Linked DNA regions of Homo sapiens: all the other regions are linked to region 5. Evidence: promoter capture Hi-C in 16 types of primary human blood cells and fetal thymus (Javierre and others, 2016). All regions are on one chromosome and are shown on one strand. The core of a region is centred on a gene start or on the middle of the fragment in contact, and the rest is flanking DNA. Distances in the headings are between cores, read along the strand shown.

Evidence for each region. The method cuts DNA at HindIII sites, captures the fragments that hold promoters and counts their contacts. A CHiCAGO score of 5 or more calls a contact.
Region 1: a contact is called between a fragment that was not itself captured here and the fragment with the promoter of RPE in region 5, in 7 of 17 cell types (M0 macrophages, M1 macrophages, M2 macrophages and 4 more). The highest score is 13.4, in M0 macrophages.
Region 2: a contact is called between a fragment that was not itself captured here and the fragment with the promoter of RPE in region 5, in 4 of 17 cell types (M0 macrophages, M1 macrophages, M2 macrophages and 1 more). The highest score is 8.5, in M0 macrophages.
Region 3: a fragment that was not itself captured here is called in contact with the fragment with the promoter of RPE in region 5 in 1 of 17 cell types (total CD4 T cells); the score reaches 7.8 in total CD4 T cells.
Region 4: a contact is called between a fragment that was not itself captured here and the fragment with the promoter of RPE in region 5, in 4 of 17 cell types (erythroblasts, monocytes, total CD8 T cells and 1 more). The highest score is 8.9, in erythroblasts.
Region 6: a fragment that was not itself captured here is called in contact with the fragment with the promoter of RPE in region 5 in 4 of 17 cell types (neutrophils, M2 macrophages, fetal thymus and 1 more); the score reaches 8.5 in neutrophils.
Region 7: a contact is called between a fragment that was not itself captured here and the fragment with the promoter of RPE in region 5, in 1 of 17 cell types (non-activated CD4 T cells). The highest score is 5.1, in non-activated CD4 T cells.

The regions. Positions count from the first base shown.
Region 1 is chr2:208,310,277-208,313,031 of GRCh38, forward strand. It overlaps PIKFYVE (phosphoinositide kinase, FYVE-type zinc finger containing), which reads left to right. Exons shown (of 42, transcript NM_015040.4): 13 at 1,960-2,019. Among named protein-coding and RNA genes, the nearest start is that of PIKFYVE, 45 kb to the left of the region's middle. The HindIII fragment of the contact is 909 bases long and covers 905-1,813 here.
Region 2 is chr2:208,326,065-208,329,100 of GRCh38, forward strand. PIKFYVE (phosphoinositide kinase, FYVE-type zinc finger containing) reads left to right here. Exons shown (of 42, transcript NM_015040.4): 20 at 1-365; 21 at 2,116-2,216. Among named protein-coding and RNA genes, the nearest start is that of PIKFYVE, 61 kb to the left of the region's middle. The HindIII fragment of the contact is 2,141 bases long and covers 714-2,854 here.
Region 3 is chr2:208,025,491-208,028,212 of GRCh38, forward strand. It overlaps PLEKHM3 (pleckstrin homology domain containing M3), which reads right to left and starts at 37. Exons shown (of 8, transcript NM_001080475.3): 1 at 1-37. The HindIII fragment of the contact is 609 bases long and covers 1,043-1,651 here.
Region 4 is chr2:208,292,369-208,295,123 of GRCh38, forward strand. All of the region lies in intron 7 of PIKFYVE (phosphoinositide kinase, FYVE-type zinc finger containing), which reads left to right. Among named protein-coding and RNA genes, the nearest start is that of PIKFYVE, 27 kb to the left of the region's middle. The HindIII fragment of the contact is 3,704 bases long and covers 1-2,755 here.
Region 5 is chr2:210,001,340-210,004,222 of GRCh38, forward strand. RPE (ribulose-5-phosphate-3-epimerase) reads left to right here and starts at 1,299. Exons shown (of 6, transcript NM_199229.3): 1 at 1,299-1,444. The coding sequence starts at 1,323. RefSeq lists enhancers at 1,308-1,357, 1,398-1,567. The HindIII fragment of the contact is 5,690 bases long and covers 1-2,883 here.
Region 6 is chr2:208,246,081-208,248,873 of GRCh38, forward strand. It overlaps IDH1 (isocitrate dehydrogenase (NADP(+)) 1), which reads right to left. Exons shown (of 10, transcript NM_005896.4): 4 at 2,289-2,580. Among named protein-coding and RNA genes, the nearest start is that of IDH1, 7.6 kb to the right of the region's middle. The HindIII fragment of the contact is 4,254 bases long and covers 1-2,793 here.
Region 7 is chr2:208,227,680-208,230,709 of GRCh38, forward strand. No RefSeq gene overlaps it. Among named protein-coding and RNA genes, the nearest start is that of IDH1, 26 kb to the right of the region's middle. The HindIII fragment of the contact is 205 bases long and covers 1,668-1,872 here.

The DNA.
Region 1 (2,755 bases), core at 109-2,608, 1.7 Mb before region 5:
AATTAAAGGTAGTACTTATTAAATATTTTCTTATGGATTGTCCTATATTGTTTCAGGCTGAGGAAAATTGGATTTATAAAATTGGTTGAAATATCTGTACTTTAAAAAATACTACTTATGCTTTCTGTCTGAAGTGAGAAAACCCTATTTTCAGAAGCTCGTAAAACTGGCTTAATTTTTCATTATTGGTCTTGGAGAATTGTACAGTTAAAATATATTTTATTATGTATTACAAGCAGGATTCTGAACTATTCTTGGAAAGTTAGCAAGTAAAACCTAGAGAAGAAGGTGAAAATCACGGCTTCCGTAAATCTCTAGATGTAGTTTTCCGTGTATAGGAAAACATGGGATAGAGGAGCAAGTTAAACACACCATGAGAAAACAATGGATTGTACTCCGAATGTGGGACATTGCACAGAACATTTGACCTGGGTTCTTTTAAATTCATGTTATGAAAAGAAAAAAAGACAGGAGATCTGTTCTAGATTAAAAGAGAATGAAGAGATACAGGAACCAAATGCCATGTGTGAACTTGATTGCATCGAGGCTTAAGAAGAAAAACTGTGGATTAAAAACATTTTGGAGACAGTTGGATAAACTTGAGTATGGGCTAATTCTGTGCTATTAAGACATTGTTAATTTTCTCAAATATGTAAATAATTTTGTGGCTATAGAGAAGAATACCTTTATTTTTATGAGAGTTGTGCTGATGTCCTAGTGGTAAAGTGTCATGATGTGTGTAACTTTGAATGATCGGGGGGAAGAAACATACACATATATGGCAAATCCTTAACAATTGTTGAACTCAGGTGGATGGTATACAGCATTTTCTGTAGGTTTGAATTTTTTTCATAACTAAATGGGGAAAATCCACCATTTCTGGAGTCTCATATAGATACAATTAAGCTTTAGTGTGAGAAGGCTGGTAAAGAACAATACATTAATTGAACTAATAGGATTTGGTGTTACTCATTCCTGTGAGGGAAGAGTAGAAATAAAGTGTAACATCTATCTTGCCCACATACTCGATTTTATTGTATTTGGCATAGTGCACTTGAACTTTCTAAATAAAATATTTTCTTTGTTTCCTGGTTGGAAGGATGAGCATATTGGCTTATAAACATAGTAACTTTTAAAGCCCAGTTGTTTATAAATGTACTTGGAGAAAATTTTGTGGAGATCCTTTACCGTAAAGGAGTTTACATGCATCATGTTTTAATTTGCATAGTGGAAAGAACCTCATTTGAGCTATGCTTGGTCACAGACCTAGAGAAAGTTCACGGGGAAGTAAAGAGTAAGTTTCACTTGTAAGAAAAGTATTTAATATATTAAAAGCATTCAGAGTGTGTTCAGTTAATGTCTAGCAAAAATTTGGCAGTGTTTGATATAATTTTTGAAAAACAAAAACACTTATTTGGAACTAATACAAATACTGATGAGTTTTATCTTTATTCCTGCCAATGTCACTTCTGTATTAATTTGTTTTATAGCTTATATTCTGAAATTTGAAAAAAGTTTATATTGTTTTATCAGGTGGGTTCTGTATGAACTGCTTTGTGCATAGGCAAAGTGATTATTTGTTAAATCATCAAGTTACATGTGAAAAGAACTGTAATCTTTTAGGATGGTCGTACAAGTATCTGAAGATTTAATTTTCATAAACCGGTTGGTTTTGGTAAGAGAAAAACATTTCTCTATCTGACATTTGAATTAAGGAGAATTGTTTTCACGGCTCTATTGTGTTATTAATGCAAGTCTGCTTAAGTTTAGTATGAAGTGCATAGAACAAGTATAAAGAGGCATTTTTACCCAAAGCTTTCTTGAATTTGCCGGGCAGTGATGGGTTTAGTATGAGTAATATTTTGTGTGTGGGCGTATTCTCTATATAATTATGCTGACATGTTATAGTCATATGTCTCTACTTTTGTTCCTCCTCTCTGTTGTCTCCCTGGTATGCAGAGTATTTGATTTCTGACACTGGAGGACAACAGCTCTCAATAAGTGACGCTTTCATCAAAGGTAATTTTATAAAAAGCTGTATGTGGAATGGTGTCTCTTTTTTTCATGAGGATATACTTAGGGCTTAGCACATTGATTAGCACAGAGAAGGTGCTGAAAATATATTTGATTATGGTGGTATCATGGGAACACAGTTTTTAATATATATAATGATTTAGAGAATGTTGAGAACCAAGAATGTAAACTTGGACTTGGTTTGCGAGAAGGAGGTCTCTGATGTGAAAAGTAATTGTTTAAAAACTTTTAAGTAGAATTTGAACTTAATTCTTTTAAAGACATAGTTTACACTTAACTGTATTGTGAATATAATATTAAGTATTGATATAAATATCATCAAGGATTGTCAAATTTGTCAAAAAGCCCACAGGCAGATCTCCAGTTAAGGATGCTGCTTGCCCTGTGGAGTGAGGAAGAGAAGCAGGCAGTAGAGGTTAAAGAACTAACTCTGATGATAAATTTCTTTTGGACACAAAAGGAGATTAGCCTTCTCCTATTCCTTCCCTACTTAGCTTAGCTTAGCTTCCTAGAGTAAAGACATTCTTAGTCCATAGTACTCCACTGGTTAGGCCTCAGATAATGGGAGAAAATTTCTCTTCCTTCTTGGCTCCCACGGTTTCAGATCAAAGAGAGAAGGCAAGCGGGTACAAGGAGCCACTGCAGCTTATCTGATAGCTTGGCAGTGCTTCTAAATTCATCTCCAAGCATCTGGTTCGGCTAGAAGTTTACAGAGTGGCCC
Region 2 (3,036 bases), core at 534-3,033, 1.7 Mb before region 5:
TTTACTGGTCTCCTCTCCTCAATAAAGAATTCAAAGAAATGGAGAACAGGAGGAAGAAACAGCTGCTCAGGGATCTCTCTGGACTTCAGGGCATGAATGGAAGTATTCAGGCCAAGTCTATTCAAGTCTTACCCTCACATGAGCTAGTGAGCACTAGAATTGCTGAGCATCTGGGCGATAGCCAGAGCTTGGGTAGAATGCTGGCCGATTATCGAGCCAGAGGAGGAAGAATTCAGCCCAAAAATTCAGACCCTTTTGCTCATTCAAAGGATGCATCAAGTACTTCAAGTGGCCAATCAGGAAGCAAAAATGAGGGTGATGAAGAGAGAGGGCTTATTCTGAGTGATGCTGTGTGGTCAACAAAGGTGAGCCAGACCACTTTCTGATGCTCCTGTGCATTTAGGATGTGTTGAATGACTCCTCAAAGGCAGGCTAAAAAAATCAGTTTGGCAGACTGCATGCAGATTTGTGAAATATTTCTTCTCCTATGCTATTTTTGTTTTTGTCTTGAGTCTGCTGGCTTATGTGTTACTTTAATATGTATGAAGCAGAATTGTAATGAAACTGGGTTTCAGGGTTTTAAGGTGAGCTTATAATAAGCTAGGAAGATCCCTGAAGTAAGGGGAAATGTGGAGCTGCTTAAAATTTCTGACAACATGACTTGGATGTGGTATGATAATCCTGGATCCTTGTGTCAGGGAGTGAGAGATGGAAGCTTATTGTAGGAAATAGATGTGTTTTTTTAAAAAAGTTAGCAGCAAATATATTTGTTTTCTCAAAAAAAGTTAGCTCTTTTTTTAACATAAAACATTTTACCTTGTTATTTAACTATGACAGTGATCTTTTTCTTTTTAGGCATAAATTGAGAGCAAATTAAGGAAGGTTTATAGATCCATTATTGATAATGGTAGCAATAAAACTAATTAACAAATCCATTGCTAGATGAGGAAATGCAATTGTTTAATAAAACGAGAAGATGTCCAATTTCGCCAGTAGTCAAGGAAGTGCTAAATAATGTATGTTCAATTTCACTAGTAGTCAAGGAAGTGCTAAATAATAGTGGTGCTAAATAATTTTTTATTTGTCAGATTGACAAAAAGGAAAGTCGTAAAAGACCCATGGTTAATGATGGCATGGAAAAACACCTTTCATAAATTTTATGTAAGTTTATACAAATGTAGGTATATGTACATTTGTATAAATTTATAGAAAGTGATAGGAAAGTCTCCATTAATTTACACATACATGTATATACCTTTGACCCAGGACTCCAACTTTTTATAATCTATCCTGCAGAAATAATTAAGTATGCTTATATAAGGGTGCTTGCATTTTTTAAGAATATATGTACAAAGATGTTTATTGAAACAGTTTAAGGATGAGCAGGATCTCAAGTCATTTAATGACTTGGATAAAGCCCATGATATATTTGAAGTGTTAAAAAGCAAATTATGTTTTAATATGTGTTGCATTATTCCATATTTATAAAAACAAAACCCCCTGTTTGTACTTAGGAAGTGATGTGTGTATGTGGGACAGGTATGTAAACTAGCAAAAAGAATAGATATTTTAAAACCACAGAGTCAAACTCCGCAGCTTAGGAGGTGGAGTAGAATCAGGAGGAGCAGTTTTGTGTATTTTATGAACTTCTTCATATGCTTCTATACTGTTTCAATTTTAACAGAGAGCTGGTTTTACCTTTGTAATGATCAAAAACAGCCATAAGCATAGATAAATAAACACTTTAGAATTTAGATTTCTGGGTGTCTCAGATTGATGTTATATCCCATCAGTTCAGACTGTTAAATATGGGTATATTTAATTAATTTTTTTCCAAAATAATTTAGTGCAGTTGTGTAAAATAAAGAGTAAGTTAAGAAAACAAGCTATCTAGACATTGTTTTGTATTTTTAAGTTTAATTGAAACTTTTTGGGTTGTCTTTTCTCAAAAACCAACTGCCCTTCCTTATATTTAGTTTTCTGTAGTTTTAAATCTTGACCAGAGCCCCCACAGTGATAATTGGAGGCTTTACAAATAGAGTGGAGTGTGTTTGGTGCATTGGGGTTGAATGCGGTTGCAGTCACTTGCTCATCCATTCATTCCTTCTATTTCAGGTGGACTGTCTGAATCCCATTAATCACCAGAGACTTTGTGTGCTCTTCAGCAGCTCTTCTGCCCAGTCCAGCAATGCTCCTAGTGCCTGTGTCAGTCCTTGGTAGGATTCTTTTCCCCCTACACTATTCCACATAAGAACAGAATTCCAGCAATTAAAAAAAAACAAAAACAAAAAAACAGTCATTAGGACCTGTATTTAGGTACACAGCACACTGCTGGTCATATATGAATTGATAGAACTTTTAAACTTGTGAAGTAAATATGAAAATACATGTTTGTTCATGAGTAGAAGTAAATGAGAGTATATTAAGAGTGAAAAAAGTGTGAGGGATAGAAGAGGAATTTGTATTGGTTGACTTTCCCTTATCTGAAATGCTTGGGACCAGAAGTGTTTTGGATTTAATATTTTTTCAAATTTGGAAATACTTGCATATACTTAATGAGTTATCTTGGGGATGGGACCCAAGTCTAAACATGAAATTCATTTGTGTTTCATATACACCTTGTACACGTAGCCTGAAGTTAATTTTATATAAGATTTGTAATAATTTTATGTATAAAACAAAGTTTGTATACATTGAACCACCAGAAAGCAAAGGTTTCAGTTGTGGAATTTCCCTCTTGTGGTACCATATCAGGACTCAAAAGTTTCAGATTTTGGAGCATTTTGGATTTTGGATTTTCAGATTAGGGATGCCCAACCTGTACTTAAAAATGTGAGAAAGTTGACACACAAAAAGCTTGTTTATAAGCATTTTGATGATAGCATGTACAATTTAGGCAGGTTTTCCTTCAGGCATAATTTTTATAAAAGCAGTCAACCTTTTGCTTTATTAATGGGTTTTAGTCTAAAACTTAAGTAGATTGATAGAAACTGAAATACATTTTATGTTTTAAATTATTTTTTTCAAATTATTGTC
Region 3 (2,722 bases), core at 97-2,596, 2.0 Mb before region 5:
GCCCGGGCGCTGACCATCCCGGCCCGGCTCTGTTTACAAGCGGCTTCTCGCGGTCCCACTCTGAAATGCTTCCGCCGGCGGCCCGGGCAGCCAGAGCCGGACACACAAGGTTCCAGGCCGCGAGGACGAGTCTTTCCTGCCCGAGGGACCCGGCAGCTAGGCAAGGCCTGACCGCACCCGCCAGGCCTCCTTATTTCTTTGCTTTCTTATATACAGTTCCTCTTGTACACATTGTGAAAGCAATGGCGTGTGTCGTGGAGTCTCCTCACTGCTCCACCCAACGCCAAAATGGGTGTTTGCGATTGGAAAATGTCACTTAGAACATGTCAGGATCGGGCTGGTTTTTAGCAGCTCCCTTGTCTAAGGGAATTAATTACTCAAATAAGTTCTTTCCAAAAGTGGGACTATTCTGGAGATTGCTTCTCATTTCCGGTTTTGGGGCTGCAGTGAAAATCCGTTTTCACTGTCCTTTCCTACGCAGGTTGAAAAGGGGTGGTTTTGAGGTGAGGTCTTCACCCCCACTTGCGGATTCCCAGCAAAATAGGGTGTGCGTGTGTGTGCACGCGGGCAGGACTGCCTGGTAAGACCGCCCACATCCCACCTGCAGTGACTGTGGTCGCTTTGCAGGGATATGCTGGTCTGATTGGACAGACCTTCCTTGCAGTTTCCTGTCTGTTTTCCATCATAGCACACTTCTTAGCCATTTTCTCACTTTATAAGTACACACTTATTTATCAGTTTTATTGGTTTTCCCACGCTCACCCATCTCACCTATAAACTCCCTGAGGGCAGGCACTATTTCAGTTTCACTCACCACCATCTAGTAGGCACCTAGCACAGGCCCAATGTATATATATCTGAATAAATGAATGAACAAAGGAATGATAAAAAAAAAAAAAGGTCAAAGGGGTCAGGGATGAAACAGAAATCTAAAACTCTGATTCCTCTTCCCACCTTCCCACCCTCCAGAAGATTAATAAGCAAATCTTTAAGCTTTGAGTTAAGAAAAAATTTCCTTTGGTTGATATTCAAAGTTTAAATAAGCTTTCTTTAAACCCTGCAATTTGAGGTACTTTTTTTTCTGTTTTGCTAGAGACAGGATCTCACTCTGTGCCCCGGCCAGAGTGCAGTCGCACGATCATAGCTCACTGCAGCCCTGAACTCCTGGGTTCAAGGGATCCCCCCAACTCAGCCTCCTGAGTAGCTAGGACTACAGGCACGCATCACCACAACGTGGCTAACTTCTTTTTTCTTTCTTTCTCTTTTTTTTTTTTTTGTAAAGGCAAGGTCTCCCTGTGTTGCCCAGGATGATCCTGAACTCCTGGCCTCAGGCAATCCTTCTTCCTTGCCTTCCAAAGTGCTGGGATTACAGGTGTGAGCCACCTCACCTGGCCAGAGGTACATTTTTTGTTTTGTTTTGTTTTAATTACCAAAAGAGAATATTTGCAGTATTCTCTTTTGCCTCAGGACTTTGTACATGTGATTCCCTCTGATGAGAGTTCTCACTCCTGGCCCATCCTCTTACTTAGGCTGGCTAATTTCTCTTTGCTCTTTAAGAAGCAGGTAACAGGTGCTTGGTCTCTCAAGTCACTTGCTTGGTCTTCTTCCAAGTGTTCTTTTCTTCTTTTCCTTCCCTTCATTACTACTCTAAAGCTTTTTAATAAACTTTCACTCTAAAAAAAAAAAAAAAAAAGGCCGGGTGTGGTAGCTCGTGCCTGTAATCCACGCACTTAGGGAGGCCAAGGCGGGTGGATCGCTGGAGGCCAGCGGTTCGAGACCAGACTGACCAACATGATAAAACCTCATCTCTACTAAAAATACAAAAATTAGCAGAGCATGGCGGTGCACGCCTGTAATCCCAGCACTTTGGGAGGTCGAGGCGGGTGGATTGATTGAGGCCAGCAGTTCGAGACCAGCCTGGGCAACATAGTGAAACCCTGTCTCTACTAAAACGAAAATTAGCCAGGCATGGTGGCACACGACCTGTAATCCCAGCTACTTAGGAGGCTGAGGCACTAGAATCGTTTGGACTCAGGAGACGCAGGTTGCAGTGAGCTGATATTGAGCCAGTGCACTCCAGCCTGTGCAAAAGAGCGAGACGCTGTCTCAAAAAAAAAAAAAAAGCAGATGACATCACACCTCTTCTGGAAACCTTGCCTGATAGGGGAACCTGCTCCTTTTATGCACTCCTAGAGGATCTCATGTGTTCCTTTATAAATGTACCCATTACATTGTGCTACACAGATCAGTCTTCCATTGGATTGGTGGTTCTCAAAATTCACATGGAACAGAATCTTCTAGGATGGTGTTTCTCAAACTTTAACGGGTAAGAATTCTGTCAAAATGCAGAATCTGATACAGTAAGTCTGGGATGGGGCCTCTCCAACAGTCATGATCTCCTAAGTGATGCTGCATTTTGAGTGTCAAGGTTCTTGAATGCTGTTAAAAATGCAGATTCCTAGGCCGGGTGTGGTGGCTCATGCCTGTAATCCCAGTACTTTGGGAGGCTGAGGCGGCCGGATCACCTGAGGTCAGGAGTTTGAGACCAGCCTGGCCAACATGGCGAAACACTGTCTCTACGAAAAATACAAAAAATTACCCGGATGTGGTGGCTGGTGCCTGTAGTCCAAGCTACTTGGGAGGCTGAGGCAGGAGAATTGCTTGAACCCAGGAGGCAAAGGTTGCAGTGAGCCGAGATCATGCCATTGCACTCCAGCCTGGG
Region 4 (2,755 bases), core at 117-2,616, 1.7 Mb before region 5:
TGTATCCATCTCTGATAGAGGGGTTAAAGTCTCCAGCTATAATAATGAATTCGTCCATTTCTCCTGTAGTTCTATCAGTTTTTGCCTCATATATTTTGGTACTCTGTTGTTAGGAGCGAGCATACATATTAAGGATTGTTCTGTCTTTTGGAATATTGATTTCTTTATCATTATGTAATTTCCCTTTTTATCTTTGATTGCTCTGAAGTCTGTTCTGCCTGAAAATTAATATAGTTACTCCTGCTCTTTTTTTTATTAGCGTTAACATGGTTTATCTTTCTCCATCTATTTCCTTTTGTTCATGTATCCTGTTTTGATTTCATTTAAAAATTTAAAAATTAATTTTTAAAATTGACACATAATAATTGTGCATATTTATGGGGTAAATAGTGACATTTTGACCCTTCACTTATTTTTTAATCTGTATGTGTCTTTGTATTTAAATTAGGTTTCTTGTAGACAATGTATTTTTGGGTCTTGGTTTTGATCCATTCTAACCATCTCTGTCTTTTAGTTGGTGTATTTAGACTATTGACATTTAAGGTGATTACTGATGTAGTTAGAGTAATCCCTGCCGTATTTGTTACTGTTTTCTACTTGTTGCCCTTGTTCTTCCTGTTTTTGTCTTCTGTACCTTTTCCACCTTTATGTATTTAATTGAGCATTTTATGTTATTCCATTTTCTCTCCTTTTTAAAGGATACGAGTTACATTCTTTTTTTTTTTTTAATGATTGCCCTAGAGTTTGCAATGTAACTTACAACTAATCCACATTTACTTTCAAATAATACTATACTACTTCACAGGTAATGCAAATACCTTATAACAAAATACTCCCAATTTTTCCCTCCCATCTGTTGTATTACTGGCATTCATTTCACTTACATATAAGCATGCGTACATACATAATTGAATATATTGTTGCTATTATTTTGAAGAAATAGTTATCTGTTACATCAACTAAGAGTAAGAAAAAGAAAAGTTTTTACTTTAACTTATTCCTTCTTTGATGCTTTTCTTTGTGTATTAATAGATGTAAGTTTCTGACCTATATCATATTCCTTCTCTCTGCCTTTTCAGCATTTTTTGCAAGGCAGGTCTACTGGCAAAAAATTCCCTCAGTTTTCATTTGTCTAAGAAAGGCTTTACTTCTCCTTCACTTTTGAAGGGTATCATCAGGGTACAGAATTGTAGGTTGATGGCTTTTTTCTCTCAACATCTTAAATATTTCATTTCATTCTTTTTGCTTGCGTGGCTTCTGAGGAGAAGTCAGATGTATTTATTATCTTTGATACTCTACAGGTAAGGTTTTTTTTTTTTTTTCTTTAAATAGAGATGGGGTCTTGCTGTGTTGCCCAGGCTGGTCTCAAACTCCTGGCCTCAAGCGATCCTCTTGCTTTGGCTTCCCAAAGTGCAGGGATTACAGGTGTGAGCCACCATGCTTGGTCTTTAAGGTGGTCTTTTTCAAGATCTTTTTCTTTATTTTTGACTTTCTGCCATTTGAATACACTTAGTTTTGCCTATGTGTAGTTTTTTTGACATTTATCCACGCTTGTGTTCTCTGAGCTTCCTGGACCTGTGGCTTGGCATCTGACATTAATTTGTGGGAAATTCTCAGTGATTATGGCTTCAAATATTGCTTGTGTTCCTTTCTCTCTTTCTTCTTTTTTCGGTATTCCCATTACATTTATATTATACCTTTTGTAGTTGTCCCACATTTCTTGGATATTGTTTGTTCAGTCTTTTTTCTATTTGCTTTTCAGTTTTGGCAGTTTCCGTTGAGATAGCCTCAAGTTCAAAGATTCTTTCCTTACCTCTGTCTAGTCTACTAAGAGTCCATCAAAGGCACTCTTCTTTAATGTTATGGTGTTTTTGATCTCTTGCATTTCCTTTTTGCTTCTTTCTTAGAATATCCATCTCTCTGCTTATATTATCTGTTCTTGCCTGTTGTTTACTTTTCGCATTAACACCCTTAGCATATTAATTATAGTTTAAAAACAATTCCTAGACTGATAATTCCCACATTCATGTTGAGCCTGTTTCGGATGCTTGTTCAGTGTCTTTGAACTGTGTTTTTTGGCTTTCATTATGCCTTGTGATTTTTTGTTGAAAGGTGGACATGCTGTACTGGGTAAAAGGAACTATGGTAAATAGGCCTTTAGTGATGTAGTGATAGGATGTAGGGGGAGGTTAAGTGGTCTCTAGTCCTGTGAATCACTGTCACAGGTGAGCCTGTGCCCCTGAACTGTAAACTTTATCAGGGCTTTTCGTTTTTTTCCCCTTAGGTGAGACAGAATGGCTGGAGGGGGCTGGAGTTGGGGATTTTTCTTCCCCCATGTGGAAGGCTAGAAGGGGCTGTGGTTGGGGATTTCCTTCTCCCTGGGTAGGTTAAGCTCTGATATAACTCCAGCAGGTTAGGCTCTGGTAAAATAGTTTCTCCTCAGGGCAGGACTTGTTATGAAGAACAGAATGCTCTGACGTATTTTTAAGTTCTTTATTCTCTCCCTCTGCTGGAAGCCAGAAGCCGGAGGGAATTTTTCTGACATTCACTGTGAGGACGTGGTAGATCTGGAAGTGAAACTCCCAAAAGCATCCCCACTACCCCCATGACTGGGTTCACCTAGAATTTGTATCTCTGGTTTGTCTACACTGAGCTTCAAGGAATTTGTCAATTTGATTTTAGGTTTTCCTACCCTATTACTGGTTCCCATGGAGGTTTCTGCTCCAGTGAGTTGTGATCCTCTGTATCTGCTTGT
Region 5 (2,883 bases), core at 49-2,548:
GAGGTGTAGGGGCCAAGGGAAAACTTTCCCTTCACCCTCCAAAGGTTTGCTGAAAATCACTGACAGAAAGAAGATTAACAGGAGAAAAGGCATAAAAACTTATTTGATTATAGTTTTACCTGACACAGGAGCCTTCAGAATGAAGACCCAAAGGTACAGGGGTGATTACCCATTTTTATACTTAGGTTCAACAAAGTATAGACAGCCATGTAGAAATACGATTGGACAAAATAGGCGATCTAATGCTAATAGACTGACCTGGCCTTGGCCAGTCTAGTTTAGATTCCTGGCCTCTCTGTGCAGCATTCCCTCCTCCTGGATATGGGATAGAACCTTCTCTAGAAGAGGAGTTTTATAACCTACAGTTGAGATGGGTCAAATAATTTATGGCCAGTTTTTACACAGAAAGGTGGAGGAAAGTTAGAGTAATGCTTTTGGGTTTTGTGTCTGGCTTCAGGGAAAGGGGGTTCCGGTTTCAATGACTCTTCTTAGGGAAGATGGGCTCCAGTTTCTATGACCTGCCTCCTAGAATGAGACTGAGAAGAGAGCAGGGCAGGAAGTCAGAGAAACACTGTTGCGTCTGAGGCCTTCACTTTGGGCTATCATTTTCTGAGCCTCAACAGAGGGAAAAACAAAAAAGGTAAGGAGGAACTGCAAAGGCAGAAAAAGAGGGTAATATAATAATAACTACCATTTTGTACTGAGCACCAGGCATCCTGCTGGGCGCATTACCTGGCTTCACTCATTTAATACAACCCTAAAGCTGGGCACTGTCTTTACAGATGAGAAAACCGAAGTTAAGAAGTGATTTGCCAGGTCACCCAGCTAGTATCTGGCAGAGCCAGGGTTCCTCCAGCTCAAAAGAAGAGCTCTAGGAGAAATACGAGGAAGAAAGGTTTTTAATTGTTGTTTTAAAGGGCCAGCATAGGCGCTGGAGAGGAAAGAAAGGCATATGCAAAGGGTGGAGAAACAAAAAGTGATGTTAAGTCAAGAGCCGAGGAGAGGGAACTGCAGGAGAAGCAAAGTGAAAAAAGGTTAAGAAACGCCTTGAGTACTGCGAGGACGTTAAGATCCAAACAGCACAAGAAGGAAGGTCAAAATCAGGTGTACGAGGCCCGTGTGCCCCGCCCCGCCCCAGGCGGACGGCTGACAGCGCCCCACCCCAGGAGGAGGCGGGACTTCCTCACCGCAGAGTGGCTGCTTCCGGTAGAATCCGGAAGCCTGTACGGAGAAGGGGCGGGGCCAAAACTGCGCGCCCAATCGGGGTGACGCTCTAGCCTTGCCGGGGACTCGTGGGTAACTTGCTTTTGGGAGCCAGCGGTATGGCGTCGGGCTGCAAGATTGGCCCGTCCATCCTCAACAGCGACCTGGCCAATTTAGGGGCCGAGTGCCTCCGGATGCTAGACTCTGGGGCCGATTATCTGCACCTGGACGTAATGGACGGGTAACTCCTCCGGGCTCCGGTCGGGCTTGCCGCGCGGCGGGGCGGATCAGTGCACCTTTATTGACTGCTTGTTGGATGTACCGCGTCCCTGTACCACCGAGCGCCTCACTCTGAACGCGATGCTAGAAGGGGTGTGGGGTAGGAGCCCTGGAGGCTCTAGCAGGAGCAGAACCGACGCGGTATCCTGGGTTGCGGCCGGGTCCCAAACCTCAGTTCCTCCCCTCCCCCCACGTAACGTGTGGTCTTCCATCACTTAGGACCCGGAAGCGACCTAAATCTTTAGGACATTTCTTCACTTTCAGCTAGAGAAACTGAGGCCCAAGGGGAGAAGCATGACTTGCCCAAGCTCATATAGCTAGTTAGTGGCAAAGCTGGGGAAACAGACTTCTCTAACGATTTAAGTTGGCACCTGCGGTTAGGTTCCCGAGTTCTGCCACTTGCTGGGTTACCTTGGACAAGCCACTAACCTCATTGAGCTTCAGTTTCATAATTTGAAAAATGGAACTACTAACAGAACCTACCGCTTAGGCATCTTGGAAGATGAAATGAGCGAGTACATGAGAAGTTTACAGTGCCTGGCGTATATTAAGTTCTCTATAATTGTTAATTACATCATTATTACAATTCTGATTTTCCTGTCTATTTTCTCTTCAGGCACCCTGCTCTTCAGGGAGGTCAGTTTTTTGTAAGTAATTTTTAAGCACCGTAGTTACAGCACATAATATTGTTTGGAGTCAGGATATTAGTTTCTGAAGTTGGTTACAGAATGAGGAAACAACCCCAGAGAAAGCAGTAAGACTCCCTCAAGATTACAGAAGATTGTGACAGACTTGCAACTTGGCTCTTCCTAGGTTTGCCAAGTAGTTCTCTGAGCCCCACTGTTAACTGACTATAAAAATCATAAATACCATTATCTTGAGTGGGGATGGAAAAATAAATTTATTTTAAATAGGTAAAAACCCTGTGTTCCCTCATTCAGTTTGCAAATTGGTGTTATTTTCTAAAGGTGATGATTTCCTTTTCTTTTTAATGTTAATCTGGCTTTGAAGAGTTTTATCTTCCATTGCTCTATGTGGTTAAATGTATTGTTTCTCTTTGGCATTTTACCCAGTTACCTTAGGAGTCCACCCAACTGATAATGACAAAACTTTGACCATAGAGTACTAAAAATAATAGGCCAAATGTGTAAAAAGTTTAGTAAATATTACCTCTCACAAAGGTTGGCTTTTAATTGGCCATTATATGTAATTATACTTATATACTTTATTTTTGACATCTTTGCTTGAAAGCCCTAAACTGTCACAGGTAATAATACCCTGAGTGTCTACCTCAAAGGTAAGTAGCTACATTTTTGTGCCTGAGAAAATACCTAGAGGGTCACAGGATGGAACAGCTATGTGTATATTTGTGAGTCTATTTGAGCAATTTGGTTTTAATTA
Region 6 (2,793 bases), core at 92-2,591, 1.8 Mb before region 5:
ATCATTGTTACTAGTGTTATAGGACTTGTTCATATGGAGCAATCAAATCATTCTGGGAGCAGCTACAATGGGATGATGATGATTTTTAGGAAAGGGCTGTTCAAGGACAGGCACCTCCCTCATGGGCCTCAGCTACTCAGTGGAATAATATGCCTGGCATATACTAGACATCCATAAGTCTTTGCTGCATTGTATCTTCTTCAATGAATTGAATCAGATACTTGCAGAGTTAGGTACCAGCAGGTGCCGGCCACATCTATAAGTGTAGAGAAATACTAATAACAACTGGTAAAAGAGCAGTAAGTAACAATAAAGATTAAACACCTACTTTACACAGAACATTTTTGACATATAAAATCCATAAAGTAAATATGGGTGGTAATTTATTACTATTTCTGAAAAGGGAGAAACTGAGGTACCAAAGCACCATAAATGCTTTGTATAGGTTTATGTATATTTAAACAGTCCATGAATCAACCTGAGGTTTGAAATTCTCTTTCTGGACTTTAATAAATAGAATGGCCATTTTTACAAATGACTGATGCCAAAATAATTAAAAAAAAAAAAAAAAAGAGGAAGGCCGGGCATGGTGGCATGCCTGTAATCCCAGCACTTTGGGAGGCGGAGGCGGAGGCGGGCGGATCACAAGGTCAGGAGTTTGAGACCAGCCTGACCAACATGGTGAAACCCCGTCTCTACTAAAAACACAAAAATTAGCCGGGCATGGTAGCATGTGCCTGTAATCCCAGCTACTCAAGAGGCTGAGGCAGGAGAATTGCTTGAACCCGGGAGGCAGAGGTTGCAGTGAGCCAAGATCACACCACTGCACTCCAGCCTGGGCGACAGAGCGAGACTCTGTCTCAAAAACAAAAAACAAAAAGGATATACGCAGAAAAAAGGCACGACTGAACTGGAAAGAATCTAGGGTGATTTTTACAAGATTAGCGAGTTTGCACCACTGCCATCTACCTTCCCTTGCTTGGGCCCCTGGGAGCTATTTCTGAAGGCTTTGGCCAGGATGAAAGGATAGTTTTAGCCACAGAGTGGAACAAAGTTAACTGACCCCTCAAGGACTAAACTGTTTACCCTCAACACACTGTTTTCAATGATGGCTACATTAAAACCTCTGGATTTCAGCATGAGAGATTCCTGTTTTTAAGGTCCTTTTAAGACATAAACTACTTTCTGTGAAAGTCTGAAACCTCAGTTTCAACACTGAACTTTGATTTTGTTTACTTGGCAGTTTTTTTGCTTAATTTGGCAACAAGTGTACTGGTACAGAAGTAAAGAAGCAATACTTTTTTTCCAGGCAGGAAGGAATGCTTTAGTAAGGCTGCTTTCAACTACCGAGTCAGTTTTTTTTTTCTTTTTCTTTTTCGAGACAGGGTCTTGCTCTGTTGCGTAGGCAGTGGTGTGATCATAGCTCATAGCTGTAACCTTGAACTCCTAGGCTTAAGGGATCCTCAGGCCTCAGCCTTCCAAGTAGCTGGGACTATAGGCACATGCCACCCCACTCAGCTTCGCCTACTCACTTTGTATATGAATAAACAAAACTGGCTCTTCCATGAACAATTGACATAATTATTGAAATACTTTTCATTTTTGTAGAGACAGGGTTCTGCTATGTTGTCCAGGCTAGTCTCAAACTCCTGGCCTCAAGCAGTGCTTCCAAATTGGCCTCCAAAGTGCTAGGATTACAGGTGTGAACCATAGTACCCAGCCAGTTTTTTCTTTTATGCATGATGGGATCATGTTTAATACAATCTTTGGTGGTTCTCAAGTTTGCACATTAGATTCACCTGGGGAGCTTTAAAATGCCTGAACCCCATGGAATTCAGATTTTAATTTGTGTAGGGTGGTACTCAAGCATTGAAACTAAAACAAAGAAACAAATCAAGCAAAGCAAAACAAAACCACCAAAAAAACTTGTAAGGGGATCCTATTGTGCAGCCAGTGTTGAAAACCACAGATCTGGTTGAACCATATGAAATTACCAACATAAAAATGGCAATATCATATGGTATAACTGAATAAAAGGATAAAGGAAAAAAAACAGCATGTTTGAAAAAAAATGTGTTGAGATGGACGCCTATTTGTAAGTTTATTTGTATTTGCCTTTAGCTAAATGTGTGTAAATATACAGTTATACATATATGCATTTCTCAATTTCATACCTTGCTTAATGGGTGTAGATACCAAAAGATAAGAATAAAACACATACAAGTTGGAAATTTCTGGGCCATGAAAAAAAAAACATGCAAAATCACATTATTGCCAACATGACTTACTTGATCCCCATAAGCATGACGACCTATGATGATAGGTTTTACCCATCCACTCACAAGCCGGGGGATATTTTTGCAGATAATGGCTTCTCTGAAGACCGTGCCACCCAGAATATTTCGTATGGTGCCATTTGGTGATTTCCACATTTGTTTCAACTTGAACTCCTCAACCCTCTTCTCATCAGGAGTGATAGTGGCACATTTGACGCCAACATTATGCTTCTTTATAGCTTCTGCAGCATCCTTGGTGACTTGGTCGTTGGTGGCATCACGATTCTCTATGCCTAAATCATAGCTTGAAAGAGAAAAATTAGAAGCAAAGTTTTTCAGACAAATGGATAGTTATAACCTACAACTGCAGTGATGGCATATAGAGCTCATTATGCAGAAAGCGAAGGCTCTGAGTACACCAAAATCTGCCAAGTTTTAGCACTGGCACACCCTAAACACAGAAGATGGGTGCCAACTACAAAGAGAACTAAGAGAGGCTAGACTGCTGGGCTGCCCC
Region 7 (3,030 bases), core at 520-3,019, 1.8 Mb before region 5:
GCTGCAAGTCCCACGCCGCATGCCTGCACTCCTCAGCCCTTGGGCAGTCAATGGGACGGCAGGGCGCGGTGCCCCTCAGGGAGGCTCTGCCCGCACGGGAGCTCACATGGCATAGGGGGGAGCTCAGGCATGGTGGGCTGCAGGTCCCGAGCCCTGCCCCAGTGGGAGGCGGCTGAGGCCCGGCGAGAATTTGGGCATGGTGCGGGCGGGCCGGCAGTGCTGGGGCACCCAGCAGCTGCTGGCCTGGGTGCTAAGCCCCTCACTGCCCTCGGCCAGTGGCTCCGGCCGGCTGCTCCAAGTGTAGGGCCCACGGAGCCTGCGCCCACCCGGAACTCGCACTGGCCCATGAGCGCCACACGCAGCCCCGATTCCCGCCAGCGCCTCTCCCTCCACACCTCTCTGCAAGCAGAGGGAGCTGGCTCTGGCCTTGGCCAGCCCAGAGAGGGAGTCCCACAGTGCAGCGGCGGGCTGAAGGGCTCCTCAAGTGCGGCCAGTGGACGCTGAGGCCGAAGAGGCACTGAGAGCAAGCAAGGGCTGCCAGCACGCTGTCACCTTTCAATACCGCTGAACTACATGAGGTAATCACAACTGTGGAAAAGGGCAAGAATTAAAGTACTAATTGTACAGATCAAGATGTTGCTTATCTTGCCATAGCTTTAGGATATTTGAAGAATGTGTTCATAGAAAATGAGACCCAAGTTAACTCCAAATAAGTTCTGAAAAGCATTCCCATTATAATAGTAAAGAATCATACTGAAACACTGTCACAAAACCAGTGACTCAAAACCCAAGCTGTCTGACGCTCAGCAATGGTACAATTGCAGTAGCCTGACCTATAAAAGTACCCTCACCTAGAGGTTGTGGGTCCTATGGGACACTGATTTACCAAGATAGTGTCAGGATTAGCAGACATACTCCAATCTACTTGTTGGATGAATTAGGTTCAAAAATCAAAGAAAGGAAAAAAAACCCTTCTGTAAGGAAGTAGATGCAGATGGAAAGGCCAGATTAAAAACACTGGCTGAGCTCCAAGTTGTAAGTTTTCATGGAATAGAACAAGAGCATGGTAATTAATTTGCAGTAAAAAATAAGTCACCAACAAGCAGGGTATTTCAAACAATAAAAATACAAACATGATCAAAAGAAAAGTAAACTTGCTGAGTAATTCTAACAAAGGGAGTTACTGCAGCCAGGAAATATGGAACATTTTAAATAGGTAAGAATAGCTCTAGAATATTAGAATAATATTTCAGGGTCAAAGTTAAGTTGTTAGCTTTTTGTTTTTTGTTTTTTTTTTTTTTGAGATGGAGTCTCGCTATGTCACCCAGGCTGGAGTGAAGTGGCGTGATCTGGGCTCACTGCAACCTCTGCCTCCCACGTTCAAGCGATTCTTCTGCCTCAGCTTCCCAAGTAGCTGGGACTACAGGTGCCTGCCACCACGCCCAGCTAATTTTTGTATATTTAGTAGGGACGAGGTTTCACCATATTGGCCAGGCTGGTTTTGAACTCCTGACCTTGTGATTCGCCCGCCTTAGCCTCCCAGACTGCTGGGATTATAGGCATGAGCCACCGCGCCCAGCAAGTTGTTAGTTTTTAATCACGTATTTTAAACATTTTGGAGTTTACTCAAAAAATTCAGAGTTAAACCCTGTAGGAAATGACTGAAAAGCTTCTGAAGTGGAAAAAAAAAAAGGAGAAAATTTTGAAATTGGTAAAAATTTAGTGACTAGAACATAGGAAAATGTGATTCAGTTAGACTGTCTTGAACGTTAGTCTCTGAGCATATAAATAATGTGCAAAGCATTATTTTCCAAATAAAACAAAGCAAGACCAACTAGGAAAAGGATAATTCTCATGTAGAAATCAAATGAAAGCTTTAAAACCAAATACTCCTAACAAGAAAGTGTCGTGAAGTCATCCAGGTAAAGGAATGTAGGTCCAAAAAGCCCACTAAAGACCCTCAAATGTCTTTACTCATAATACTTAGTATATAGTCCAGTTAAAATTCCAGGGCAGAGCGCCTTCCTGGAGAGAGGCTTTATAAGCTTATATTTGGAAAGGTTAAAGATGATTTGAAATTGTGTCATCTATCAAAGGCAAACCAAGAGGCTTTGTCAAGAGGGTGAGCCTACACTGCAGAGAAAGTTTTTGAATTTGTTCCAGAAGAATGTTGTCCTATGCAATTAGTCCAAGGGATTAAGAACAGGTTTCCTAATACACTTTTAAAAACTTTTTATTATTAAAAAAGGATGCAGGCTGGGGGCGGTGGCTCACGCCTGTAATCCCAGCACTTTGGGAGGCCGAGGTGGGTGGATCACGAGGTCAGGAGATCGAGACCATCCTGGCTAACACGGTGAAACCCCGTCTCTAGTGAAAATACAAAAAATTAGCTGGGCGAGGTGGCGGGCGCCTGTCGTCCCAGCTACTCGGGAGGCTGAGGCAGGAGAATGGCATGAACCCCGGGGGGCGGAGCTTGCAGTGAGCCAAGATCACGCCACTGCACTCCAGCCTAGGTGAAAGAGCGAGACTCCGTCTCAAAAAAAAAAAAAAAAAAAAAAAAAAAAAGAATGCAGTAAACCACACAAAACAAGTGTATAATGTAGTAAACCATTACAAGGTACTCTTGTAATCATTACCCGTATAAAGAAATGGAACACAGCCAGCTGCCCTAGAAGTCCTCATGTGCCTATCCCAGTCATACTCTGTCCCTGTTCCCATTATTACCTGAAAGTCCATCGTGTGGACTCCATAATTTAGTCTCAATAATAGAATTTGAAAGTCGATATCCCCATCTTTCCAAAAGGTCAGTAACTGGTGACAACCCTAGCACCCTAGTACCTTCCTTTGCTTCTACCCCAGACTTGTTTTTTAAGTTAAGTAAGTCTCCAGTCTCTGGAGATCCATCTTGAAACAGGCGGTCTTTCAACAATACTTTCTGCTGAGACATTGTCTGGTTAGATCTGGAAAGGAACGCGTGGACCAATACATTCTATTGGTAGAAAAGGAGCATCGCACATGAAAGCTCTTCTC